Linked DNA regions of Homo sapiens: regions 1 and 3 are each linked to region 2. Evidence: promoter capture Hi-C in human tissues and cell types (Jung and others, 2019). All regions are on one chromosome and are shown on one strand. Each heading gives the region's core, a stretch centred on a gene start or on the middle of the fragment in contact. The rest is flanking DNA. Distances are from core to core; before and after follow the strand shown.

Region 1 (3,647 bases), core at 825-3,324, 390 kb after region 2:
ACAGCTACTCGGGAGGCTGAGGCAGGAGAAACGCTTGAACACAGGAGGCAGAAGTTGCGGTAAGCCGAGATCGTGCCACTGCACTCCAACCTGGGCGACCAAGGAAACAACCAACCTCAGGATGAACATTGCTTTGGAAATAATGCAATGTGTGACCTTGAGGAAATTTCGGCTTATAAATCCATTTTTTGAAGTAGTTTTTCTCCTTTAAAATGGTGACCGTAGTAACAAGCACAGAGTTGTACTGAGTAATTAGTTGAATAGTATCTATGGAAAATACTAGACACTCCCAAGTTTTCCAATTTTGGATTAAGAGAGGCAGGCCTTGTGAAAGAGATACTAACCCTAGTCATTACGTTAGTCCATCTCTTTAGTGCAGAAGATCCTTGGCAAAGCTGGATAATAGGCTGAGAGAAGAATATTCCTTTAAGAGAGGGACACTGACTACTCAAAGACTTTCTTTTATTAGTACATGGGCTGGGATTGATGGGAAGGGACAGATGTAGTTGGCAACCATGGTTAGCATCGGATGCCCATCCCAATGGCCATGAATGTGCCAAAGGTGCCGCCACTCTGCATCATGGTTTTCCCAATGCCGCCCATCAGCTCTCGACCCCGCATTCCGATCCTGAGGAGGAAACCAAGATGGAGCTATTTGGTAACAAAAATATCAGAAAGAGTATTAACTGCTCCTTTCCAATTTTTTGCTAACACTAGTCTAGCAACCCCTACATCTGATTTTCCACTTACTGGATATTATATCTTACTACCTGGGGTGGGTAATGAGAAGGAAAAAGATCCATCTGGGTCTCCAGGGTATTTTTCTGGTGGATGTCGTATTAACTGCCTTCAGTTTGTGGGAGGCAGCAGATGCAGTGTAAAATACATAGAGAAACCAGCTTTTTTGACTGGTGTTGCCTGCAGTTTAAGACCCAATAAAGACATCTGTCTTTTAGTTTCTTGGTGTTAATGATTTTGGAGTAAGGTGGGGGTTCAAGAGTCAGCTCTACAATTTACACATAGTGTCAAGTGTAAAATGGGCATCTCAACATTATTTACAGGATTTTGAAAACTACAGTATTTAGCACAGTGCTTAACATAGAGTAAGTGCTCTGTAAATGATAATTTACAATCTAGGGATATGGCAATAACAGCCTCTAAATGTGAAAATGACCTTTAGAGTGTAAAGTTTAACTGCTTTATCTCTGTATCCTGTATCCAGAATAGTAAAACCGCTGAACGAGTTTCTTTCCTTATGCGCAATTGGAAAAAAAAATAAAAGCAACAGTAGTAACTAGTTACTGAGCACTTAATATGTGCCAGATGCTGTGCAAAGTGTGCTGATCGAATTTTTACAACTCTATAAGTTAGATGCTACTGTCTTCATTCTACACTTAAGGAAACCCAGTCTCCAACTTGCCTAAAGTCACCGAACCAGTAAGAAAAGGGCCAGAAAGCATTTTGACTCTAAAGCTCAAATTCTTAAGCACTGACGCTTCCAACCTGACTTTACAGATTGAAGGTGGTTTGGAATGAGTCTGGCTCGCGAGGGGACAGAGAGGGAAGTCGAAAGAAGGAGGCTGTGTTCAGGCTCCAGGCCGAATGGGGCAGGGCCGGAAGGTCTGGTTGTCCTGCCCAGAGATCACCGCCCGCGCCCCTCACCTGAGACAGGAAAAGGTGCCGAAGAGCGCCCCGGCCGCCATGCCCACGGCGCAACCCATCACGAAGCCCATTTTGACACGGTCGAAGCAGCTTGGCTGGGACTGTCCGTAGGGACCCACGGCCACCGGCATCTGCGGGGGATAGGAAAGTGTGGGCCCAGGCGCTGGCCCAAGAGTCGGGCGGGGACGGAAGCGGTAGGCTGGGAAGTGGGCCCAAGGGCTCAGGGGAAGTAAGGGAAGGAAAATCAGTGGGTAGCCCGACTCCACCACCCTCTTCGCGTTCCGGCCCCGCGTCGCCCGGCGCCTACCTCACCTCGCTCGCGGGCTGGGTCGCTCAGCTCTACGTCTCTCACGGAAAACGACGGGGAGGGCGCTCGCGGCCCGATGAATCGCTTCCGGAGCGCCGGGCAGCACTTCCGGGAGCCTGGGGCCCAGGACTGCAGCGGCTTCGGAAGGTGGGCTCTGCCAGCGGGACCATGCTGCTCCGAGCCGCTTGGAGGCGGGCGGCAGTGGCGGTGACAGCGGCTCCAGGGCCGAAGCCCGCGGCGCCCACTCGGGGGCTGCGCCTGCGCGGTACGCTCGGGTCCCGCTCTCCGGGAGGCGCGGACCTGTCCCCTCCGCGCGGCGACGCAACTGAATATTCCGGAGCCTTCCTGTCCACCCTGCTGCCCAGACCCTCTGACCCTTCTCTCAAATGACACATCCCTCAAACTTTCTTAGGCGGGTCCCCGAACGGTTGACCCCGGCGCACCACCCCTCGCACCCTGCGCGACAGGCCCCCAGAGCCGTGGAGGCGCGTCCTTCAGACCGCTCCTGGCCAAGTTACAGATGCTGCTCCGGGCTCCCGTGCAGACCGTTACCTTCGGTCAGAAGGGACTGCACCTACTCTGGCTCCACGTTCCTTCTAAACGTCTTTGCCCTTTAGAGCCTTCCTTCCTACGATACCATTTGAATATCAACTCAACACCCCCTCCAGGAACCCTCTCTCCCTCTCCCTTACCTCCTTTTACAGCGTGTCAGGTATCTGGTGTTGTTTTCTTTCCATTGAGATTCGACCCTAGCATCCCTTACACTTATCTCACCTCCAGCCAGATTTTTCCTTCTGCCCTTTGGATGCCATGCGTTCATAGTTGCCTTCGGTCTTACTTGGCTACTCCGTTCCATTTTTTATCAGTTGGAGACCGTGCTCCTCAGTCTGCGGTTCCCGCAGATACAGCCGCTGCCCCGGAGGTGGGGCCAGTGCTGCGACCTCTCTATATGGATGTGCAAGCTACAACTCCTCTGGTAAGGATGAAGCTTTTCCCAAGGCTGCTTATAGGAAGTAAATGATGGGCGTGATCACGCAAAGAAATGGCTGAATCCCTGGAGAAGTGAGAGCCGTGAAGGTGTGCTGGAAAAAGCACTGAGCGAGGAGTCGGGAGGCTTAAATTCGAGGCCACTGGCATTGGCTTTACTACTCACTAGCAATTGACCTTGGTCAGATCACTTCAGCGCAGGCTCTATAGTATTAGTTAAAAGCATGGGCTCTGGAATGAGCAGAACGGCCACTTAGTAACTGTGTGAACTTGGACAAGTATTAAACGGGTTAAAAGACTAATGCAAGTTTTCACCAATGTGTGACCAGGGGTGTTTGCCTAGGCCCTGTCCTGTCCCAGCCCCTTATAGATCACATTACCTGGCAGGAATGGAAACACCAGCAGAAACAGATGTCGGAACAAGGCAGTGTTTGTAGACTACCTGAGGGGAGGCAGAACAATCCGAGTTGGGATGGGTTGTGAGTGGGAGTGTATTAGGTTGATATTTGGTGGGTAGTTTTGTGGGAACAAAAGAATGTTTGAGGCCTCCTCTAGGCAGTGCCTGAGGGGTTGAGAGTGTCTTAAGGCAGGGTGGCCAGGTCTGAGGGGTGGAGTGGGACCTGAATTGACGATGCGCTCAAGGAAAATGATCTGTTCTGTTGTGTTCAGGACCCCCGGGTGCTTGATGCCA
Region 2 (3,673 bases), core at 392-2,891:
AGGACCTGGTTCCTATGAAACAATGACTACAGATTTGCTGCCAGAATGGATACGAAAGAATTCCATTGGCCAGGTGCTGTGGCTCACGCCTGTAATCCCAACACTTTGGAAGGTCGAGCAGGTGGATCACCTGAGGTCAGGAGTTCGAGACCAGCCTCGCCAACATGGTGAAACCCCGTCTCTACTAAAATACAAAATTAGCTGGGCGTGGTGGCACATGCCTGTAATCCCAACTATTTGGGAGGCTGAATGTCTTGAATCTGGGAGGTGGAGGTTGCAGTGAGCCAAGATCACACCACTGCGCTCCAGCCTAGGCAGCAAGAGTGAAACTCTGTCTAAAAAAAAAAAAAAACAAAAAGGGGCCAAGTGTGATGGCTCACACCTGTAATCCCAGCACTTTGGGAGGCCGAGGCAGGCAGATCACCTGAGGCCAGGAGTTTGAGACCAACCTGGCCAGCATGGTGAAACCCTGTCTCTACTAACAACACAAAAAAATTAGCCAGGCTTGGTGGCTCATGCCTGTAAGTCCCAGCTACTCGGGAGGCTGAGACATGAGAATTGCTGAACCTGGGAGGCGGAGGTTGCAGTGAGCTGAGATTGTACCACTGCACTCTAGCCTGGGCAACACAGTGAGACTCGGTCTCAAAAAAAAAAAAAAAAAAAAGAGAATTCCATCACATCACCTCCAGTGGGGGGATATCCAGGAAGACAATTTCAGCTCACTATAAAGAACTCCCTAACAGTTGGAGCTACCCAAGAATGGAATGGACCACCTTGGGAGTGATGAACTCCTTGTCAATATATGTATTCAAGGAAAGATTAAGTCTTCATTGGGAAATTGAACTAGGATCCTGGTGACCTCTCAAGTTGAAAAAATGGGCAAGTTCTATTAGGAAGGGAAAGACAAGATCAAAGCTGTGCTTCCAGACAATTATGTGACTGTATGTGTAGAAGAAATGGGTGGGGAGGGATCAGAGGCAGGCAGGACCAGTAGGAAACCACTGCAGTGGTCCAGGAGATAAAAGAATAGACTGGGGCTGGGCACGGTGATTCATGCCTGTAATCCCAGCACTTTGGGAGGCCGAGGAGGGTGGATCACAAGGTCAGGAGTTCAAGACCAGCCTGGCAAACATGGTGAAACCCTGTCTCTACTAAAAATACAAAAAAATTAGCCAGGCATGGTGGTGGGTGCCTGTAATCCCAGCCACTTGGGAGGCTGAGGCAGAGAATTGCTTGAACCCGGGAGGCGGAGGTTGCAGTGAGCCGAGATCACACCACTGCACTCCAGCCTGGGCGACAGAGCGAAACTCGTCTCAAAACAAAACAAAACAAAACAAAAAACAAAAAAAAAGAATAGACTGGGAGGCCATGGGAATGGAAAGCCAATGCAAGTGTGACTTGAAAGAGGCACTGGCACTAGGCTGGTAGTCAGGAGCTGCAGGTTCTAGTCCTGCCCCTGCCATTAACTTATTGTGTAGTCTCAGGTAAATCCCAGCCCTTGAGTAGATCCCTTCCTTTATTCAAATTTCAGAGATCCCATCTGTAAAATGCAGAATGATCTGCAATATCCTTCCTAACTCTGGATTCTGTGAATGGGAGAGAGATAATGAAGGATAACTGGGATGATGTATTAGAAAGCCTTCATACACTTCAAAGTAATAATATCATTAGTACAAGTACCATTGTTATTATTATTTCAAAGGCAGCCTCACCAGAACGTGGTGACTGGACTGGTAGGAGGGGACAGGACAGAGTCAAGTGGCCTGCATCTGTGGGTGGACAAGACACCAGGATCTCTGATCTTTTGGGAAGGTCAGCTAACCACTGTATCCCTCCCCCAAGATCTGTGAAGACAAACAGTATTCTGTGCCCTGTCACCTCATTAACTGCTTCCTCATTCCTTTGAGCCACACCTTATACTTGGCTAAAAGAAGCAACCAATTCTAAGAAAAGTTAGCCTCTGTACTCCCTCCTTTCAATGTTCAAAAATGGGTCCTCGTCTGGGACTTTCCCTATATAATAATAAGTTTCATCATCTCATATAGGAATAGCCAACATTATTGAGTACTTAGTATATGTTAGGAAATTTATTTACATAATTTTCTCACCCTGGGAGGTAGCTGTAATGGCTTATGAAGATCTATAACTTTCTCAGTCACATAGCTTATGAGAAGGATTCCAGTACAAGTCTGTGCGATTTCAAGGCTGCATTCTTAAAGATTTTTTTTTTTTTTTTTTTTTGAAATGGAGTCTTGCTCCATCACCCTGGCTGGAGTGCAGTAGCACTATCTTTGCCCACTGCAACCTCCATCTCCCGGGTTCAAGCGATTCTCATGTCTCAGCCTCCCAAGTAGCTGGGATTACAGGTGCCTGCCACCATGCCTGGCTAATTTTTGTATTTTTAGTAGAGATGGGGTTTCACCATGTTGGCCAGGCTGGTCTCGAACTCTTAACCTCAGGTGATCTGCCTGCCTCAGCCTCCCAAAGTGCTGAGATTACAGCCGTGAGCCACCCTGCCCGGCACCCTAAAGATTTTTACTATGTCTTTTTGTAGCAACTTAGGGAGGAGGGCAAGATCAGTGTTGTTGCCACTTTATAGCTGGGGAAACTGAAGCTCAGAGAAGGTAAATTCTGTCATTTGGACAAATTAGTAAAGTCTTCTATGGTGCAGTTTGGTGCTGTTTCTACTTCTCAGAGCTTCCTCCTCTGCACCTTCCAGGACCTCCCCAGTCCTCCTAGGAGTGATGAGTAGAGACTTGCCCAGACTACTTAAGGGAAGGACTTACACTTGTCCTTCTCCTGGGGAAGGGAAAGGTTCCTGAAAGGTGAAAGTTAATTTCCACCTCCCCTCCCCACCCACCAACTCACACACCCTAAACCAGGACCTTGTGGTGACCCGCGCTGAAGGCTTACAGAGTGAGTCATGCGGGGCTGACCTGTCAGAGTCACCCAAGCACAAGATACTAAGCTTAGTTTAGAGGGGTGGAAAAGTAGGCAAAGTGCTCTCATCCTCAGGAGCACAGTCCACTTGCAGCTTGTGCCCCTCACTCCTTTCATCCCAAAATACTGCAAACATTTGGGAACACTGTACAAGGGCCTTAGAGCAGAGGGAACACATGACAAATAAGAGTGAGTCCAAGGAGTTGAGATTGGAGTGGAGCCTTAAAGAGTGAATTCAGCACACAAATTAGGTAGAAGGGCCCTCCAGGCTGCAGGAATGCCCTAAAGCTTAAATATATTTGGATTCCATCTAACAGGCAGTAGGGAGCCATGGAGTTCACTATGGCTTTGGAGACTGTCTGAGTTTGAATCTGCCTCTGTCCCTTCCCAGTGGTTTGATCTTGGGAAAGTTACTCAACCCCTGTGGTTGACGTATTATTTTTCTCCATTATTTGCCCTTCCCTTGGCCAGTAAGAGAATTATCCATCCTAGCCAGTTGCCATGTGACTTGTGTACCTTCCAGAGGAAGGAGTGCACTTCCCCAGCCCATTGTCAAGCTTAACCACATGACTTCCTTTGGCCAATGAAATGTGAGCTAGAGAGATACATGCCAGTTCGAAGCAGAAACTTGGAGTGCCATTGCATGTTTGAGTCTGAAATCTTACTTTTTTATCTCTGCCACTGGAAATGTTGTGTCTTGGATAGGGCCTGCACCTTCAGCCTGGACCCTGGA
Region 3 (4,112 bases), core at 110-2,609, 320 kb after region 2:
CTCAAGGGGAGTGTGGCTCCAAAAAGGGAAGGAAACTGAGGAATGAAAATGTCTTGGATGACAGAAAAGCTAAACAGGGTAGGAAGGCATGCTCAAAACCACAGACCACTCGCCACCTGGAAATGAGAGGACTCACAAAAAGGTGTGCCCCCCAAATTTAAGAAGCATCTGGAAAGTGGCTGCACTCTGAGAGTTGTATAACTAAAAGGGGTTCACCTCGTACATTTGGGGGGCACAAGAAACAAATATACTCCCAGATATGAAAATGAGTCTCCTTCAGGAAATAAGGTAGTTTGATTTGGGGAACACGTGAAAAGTGTGTAACCCCAATAATACAGTCTCGGGAGAAGGCAGTGAATTCCCTTATTTGTGAAACTGGAAATAAGTACCCATAAACTTCAAAATTTGGACATTGTTTTCGGCCCAACCTCAGGTTTGAAGGGCTGAGGAAAGGAAGTGGCCCCTAAATGTAAGAAATTCCAGAAGGCATGCTGTCAGATTTGGGACCTGGAAAAGGGGAATTCTTCCTTGGAGTAGAGGGGATACAAGAAAGTATCCCAAAACTTTAGCTAATGGACCCCAGATCTGAGGACCCGATAACAGGGTGAACCTCTAAATTGGAACGGAAATGCAGAATCAAATTGGAGGCCCGAAAAAAGGAATGTGCTCCCACTTTGGGGGCTGACGGAAGAGGGTACGCCCTAAATTTGGGGGGGGGAGGGCTTTTAGAAATTTAGATAAAATTCCAGAGCTAGAGCTTAAGAAAGGGGGTGTGCCGCCCAGTTTTCAAAACTATAGAGAAAAGGGACACTCCCATATTTGGGGTCTTGAGAAAGGAATGTGCTCCCCAGAATAGGATAAAAAAAGCCAATTTTAAAAAACATATTCCCAAAGCGCAAGGCAATAGCAGAGGCTGCTGATGAGGCTCTAGGTGCCCACACAGCTCAGGCTCGGGCCCTAGGGCTTACCCGCACCCCCAACACGGCCCGCTCCGCGCCCCGGGCCCGCACCCCACGGCCCAGCCCCCTCGGGCGGCGCTGATTGGCGGCAGCCGCCGCCACTCTTGCGGGTAGCCCCGGGGATTGGGCACCGCTCGCACGCCCGCCACGCTCTCAGCAGCAGTCCCAGGGCCTCCCTCCAGGCTGGGCGAGCGGGGCCAGGCGGGGAGCGGGGCCGGGCAGGGGACCGAAGCAGCGGTGGCGTCCGTCGCCGTCCCCGCCCGCACGGCGCGCGCGCAGCGCGGGCCCGGCCCAACCCGGCCCGGCCGGCCGGCTTCGCCTGGCCGCGAGCTCACCTCACGGCCCCACTCCGGCTGCGCCGCTCCAGGACCAACCGACAGAAGGACTCTGCGTGCTCTGCACCACGTGACCCCCGGGACGCGCCCAGCGTATGCCCCGCCCCCCACACACACGCATCATCGCCACCACCGAGTGACGTAAGGTCCCAGCTGCCCCGCCCCCTGCCCCGTCTGCCCGATCACTGTGGCAACGGCCTGCGCAGGCCACGCCCACTACCCTGACGCGCGGGAAACAGGCCCGCGCCCTAGCAGGAACACGAAGTCCCCACTCACTCGTAATCACTGAGATCACCGAAGCCGGGGAATGGACGCTATCCATCACCCGTTAATTTTGCCACCTAAATGCGTCTCAAAGCTTCCCATTTCTCCATCGAAGCGACCACCATCTCTCTCCAAGATGAAGATGGTTTCCACCCTATTACTCTTCGCCGTTCTAATCCATTCTTCGTACACCGGCAGAGAGGTCTTTTCAAAACGCCATCCCCTGCTCAAAGCTCGTTTCCCTCCCTACTCCGGATTAAGATCTAACTCTTCACCTAGACTATCTACCAGGCTCTTCAAAGTCTGGACCTGACCTGCTGCTTTCTTATCCTCACGAATCCAGCTCCCCCACATTCTCAGTGTCCTTCAACTCCGCTAACAATCCAGGTTCTTCTCATCTCAGAGCCTTTGCACTCATTTCTCCCCCACTTTATCATTAACTCCTAGAAAGGTTTCCAATTGCTGCTAAGGATAAGGAGCTGTATTTTCTCTGGGGACGAAGGTCGGAGTTGAAGCCACCCCAAAAGAATATGAGACCAGGAGCAGTGGCTCACGCCTGTAATCCCAACACTATGAGAGGCTGAGGTGGGTAGATCACTTGAGCTCAGGAGTTCGAGACCAGCCTGGGCAACATAGCTAGACCCCCGTCTCTCCAAGAAATACAACAATTAGCCAGGCGTGAACGTGCGCACCTGTGGTCCCAGCTCAACCTTCTGAGTAGCTGGGACTGCAGGCCCATGCCACCATGCCTAGCTAATTTTTTTTTTTTTTTGAGACACGGTCTCACTGTGTCACCCAGGCTGGAGTGCAGTGGCGCAGTCTCGGCTCCTCATAACCTCCACCTCCTAGGCCCAAGCAATTCTCCCACCTCAGTCTCCCAGATAGCTGGAACCACAGGTGTGCACCTGGCTAATTTTTGCATTTTTTTGTAGAGACGCAGTTTCACGATGTTGCCCAGGCTGGTCTTGAATTCCTGGGCTCAAGCAGTCCACCCACCTCAGCCTCCCAGAGTGCTGGAATTAACACCGTACTTGGCCACTTTTTTTTTTTTTTTTTGAGATAGAGTCTCGCTCTGTAGCCCAGACGGGAGTGCAGTGGTGCGATCTTGGCTCACTGCAACCTCTGCCTCCCGGGTTCAAGCAATTCTTTGCCTCAGCCTCCCAAGTAGCTGGGATTACAGGCGCACGCCGCCACGCCCAGCTAATTTTTTATATTTTTTTTAGTAGAGACGGGTTTTCACCATCTTGGCCAGGCTGGTCTTGAACTCCTGACCTCATGATCCGCGCGCCTCGGCCTCCTAAAATACTGCGATTACAAGCGTGAGCCACCGTGCCCGGCCGAGTTTTTTTTTTTTTTTTTTTAGAGACAGGGTCTCACTTTGTTGACCAGGCTGGTCTCAAACTCCTTGGCTCAAGTGATCCTCCTGCCTCAGCCTCCAGAAATGCTGGAATTACAGGCCTCAGCCAGCAAATCCAGCCTGAGGGGTGCTTTTTAAACCAGGGCTGGAAACTAAGGAGGGTATTGCCTCAGTTGAGGTAGTCAGGGCAAAGAGCAGCCCTTAGGTAGAGACACTGTGGAACCAGGGACAAAAGCTTCAGCTACACTTGCTTGGGCAGTACATGTATTCTATTAAAATTGTAACATGGCTGGGCGCGGTGGCTCACGCATGTAATCCCAGCACTTTGGGAGGCCAAGACGGGCAGATTACCTGAGGTGAGGAGTTCGAGACCAGCCTGGCCAACATGGTGAAACCCTCTCTCTACTAAAAATGCAAAAATTAGCCAGGTGTGGTGGTGCATGCCTGTAGTCCCAGCTACTTGAGAGGCTGAGGCAGGAGAATGACTTGAACCCTGGAGGCAGAGGTTGCAGTGAGCCGAGATAGCACCACTGCACTCTAGCCTGGGTGATAGAGCAAGATTCCATCTCAAAAAATAATAATAAAATAAAATAAAATTGTAACAATACAGAAAAGATTCACATGACCCCTGCATAAGGATAAGCATGCAAATTCATGATACATTTCATACTTTTTAAAAAATCAGCAATTTGAGAATCAGTGCCACTCAGTCAAGTAAGTGCTCACATATAGGAAGGGCCTTCCCAAGATCCTCTGGGTTTATGTTTATTAATATGAAATTGCTCAGATGTCAGTGGCTATGGTAGCACACAAAGAACTTTTTGCCCCCCAACCACAATAATGCCAAGAACTCCAGACTCTGTAGCCCCGTATAAATATAGCATGTTTCTTTACTTATTCAACCTGCATTTACCGAGAGTCAAATTCAAGATGGGCACCAAACACTCAGAGCACAATGAGACTTAGGCCCTGCTCTCGAGGAGCTCACAGACTGGTGAAGTAATCATGGCAAGCAAAAGAGAAATATGTTACAAGGGCCCCTGAGCTACAACAGGAGTGCAGGCTTGGAAAACAAACAGGCACAAGGACAGCTCCACCAAGAAAGAGCAACAACAGCTGCTGCCCCCAGCAACACTGCGCACCACTGCTGTGATTCAATCTTAGTATCCCTTTGTCTTTGAGTCACTCACTCAAGAG

Evidence for each region. Contacts are between HindIII fragments. The study calls those that stand out against the background at their distance.
Region 1: a contact is called between the fragment with the promoter of NFS1 here and a fragment that was not itself captured in region 2, in 3 of the 25 tissues and cell types used here (aorta, dorsolateral prefrontal cortex and mesendoderm cells).
Region 3: the fragment with the promoter of PHF20 here is called in contact with a fragment that was not itself captured in region 2 in 1 of the 25 tissues and cell types used here (dorsolateral prefrontal cortex).

The regions. Positions count from the first base shown.
Region 1 is chr20:35,697,779-35,701,425 of GRCh38, reverse strand. It overlaps NFS1 (NFS1 cysteine desulfurase), which reads left to right and starts at 2,074. Exons shown (of 13, transcript NM_021100.5): 1 at 2,074-2,234; 2 at 2,836-2,945; 3 at 3,626-3,647. The coding sequence starts at 2,138. ROMO1 (reactive oxygen species modulator 1) reads right to left here and starts at 2,021. Exons shown (of 3, transcript NM_080748.3): 1 at 1,970-2,021; 2 at 1,663-1,793; 3 at 446-628. The coding sequence starts at 1,793. The coding sequence ends at 520. RBM39 (RNA binding motif protein 39) reads left to right here. Exons shown (of 17, transcript NM_184234.3): 17 at 1-79. RefSeq lists enhancers at 1,397-1,616, 1,188-1,847, 1,848-2,507 and a silencer at 2,107-2,296. The HindIII fragment of the contact is 14,345 bases long and covers 1-3,647 here.
Region 2 is chr20:36,085,174-36,088,846 of GRCh38, reverse strand. No RefSeq gene overlaps it. Among named protein-coding and RNA genes, the nearest start is that of NORAD, 36 kb to the right of the region's middle. The HindIII fragment of the contact is 7,451 bases long and covers 1-3,673 here.
Region 3 is chr20:35,769,262-35,773,373 of GRCh38, reverse strand. PHF20 (PHD finger protein 20) reads right to left here and starts at 1,359. Exons shown (of 18, transcript NM_016436.5): 1 at 1,295-1,359. It also overlaps the pseudogene LOC124904972. RefSeq lists a silencer at 912-1,291. The HindIII fragment of the contact is 9,618 bases long and covers 1-2,401 here.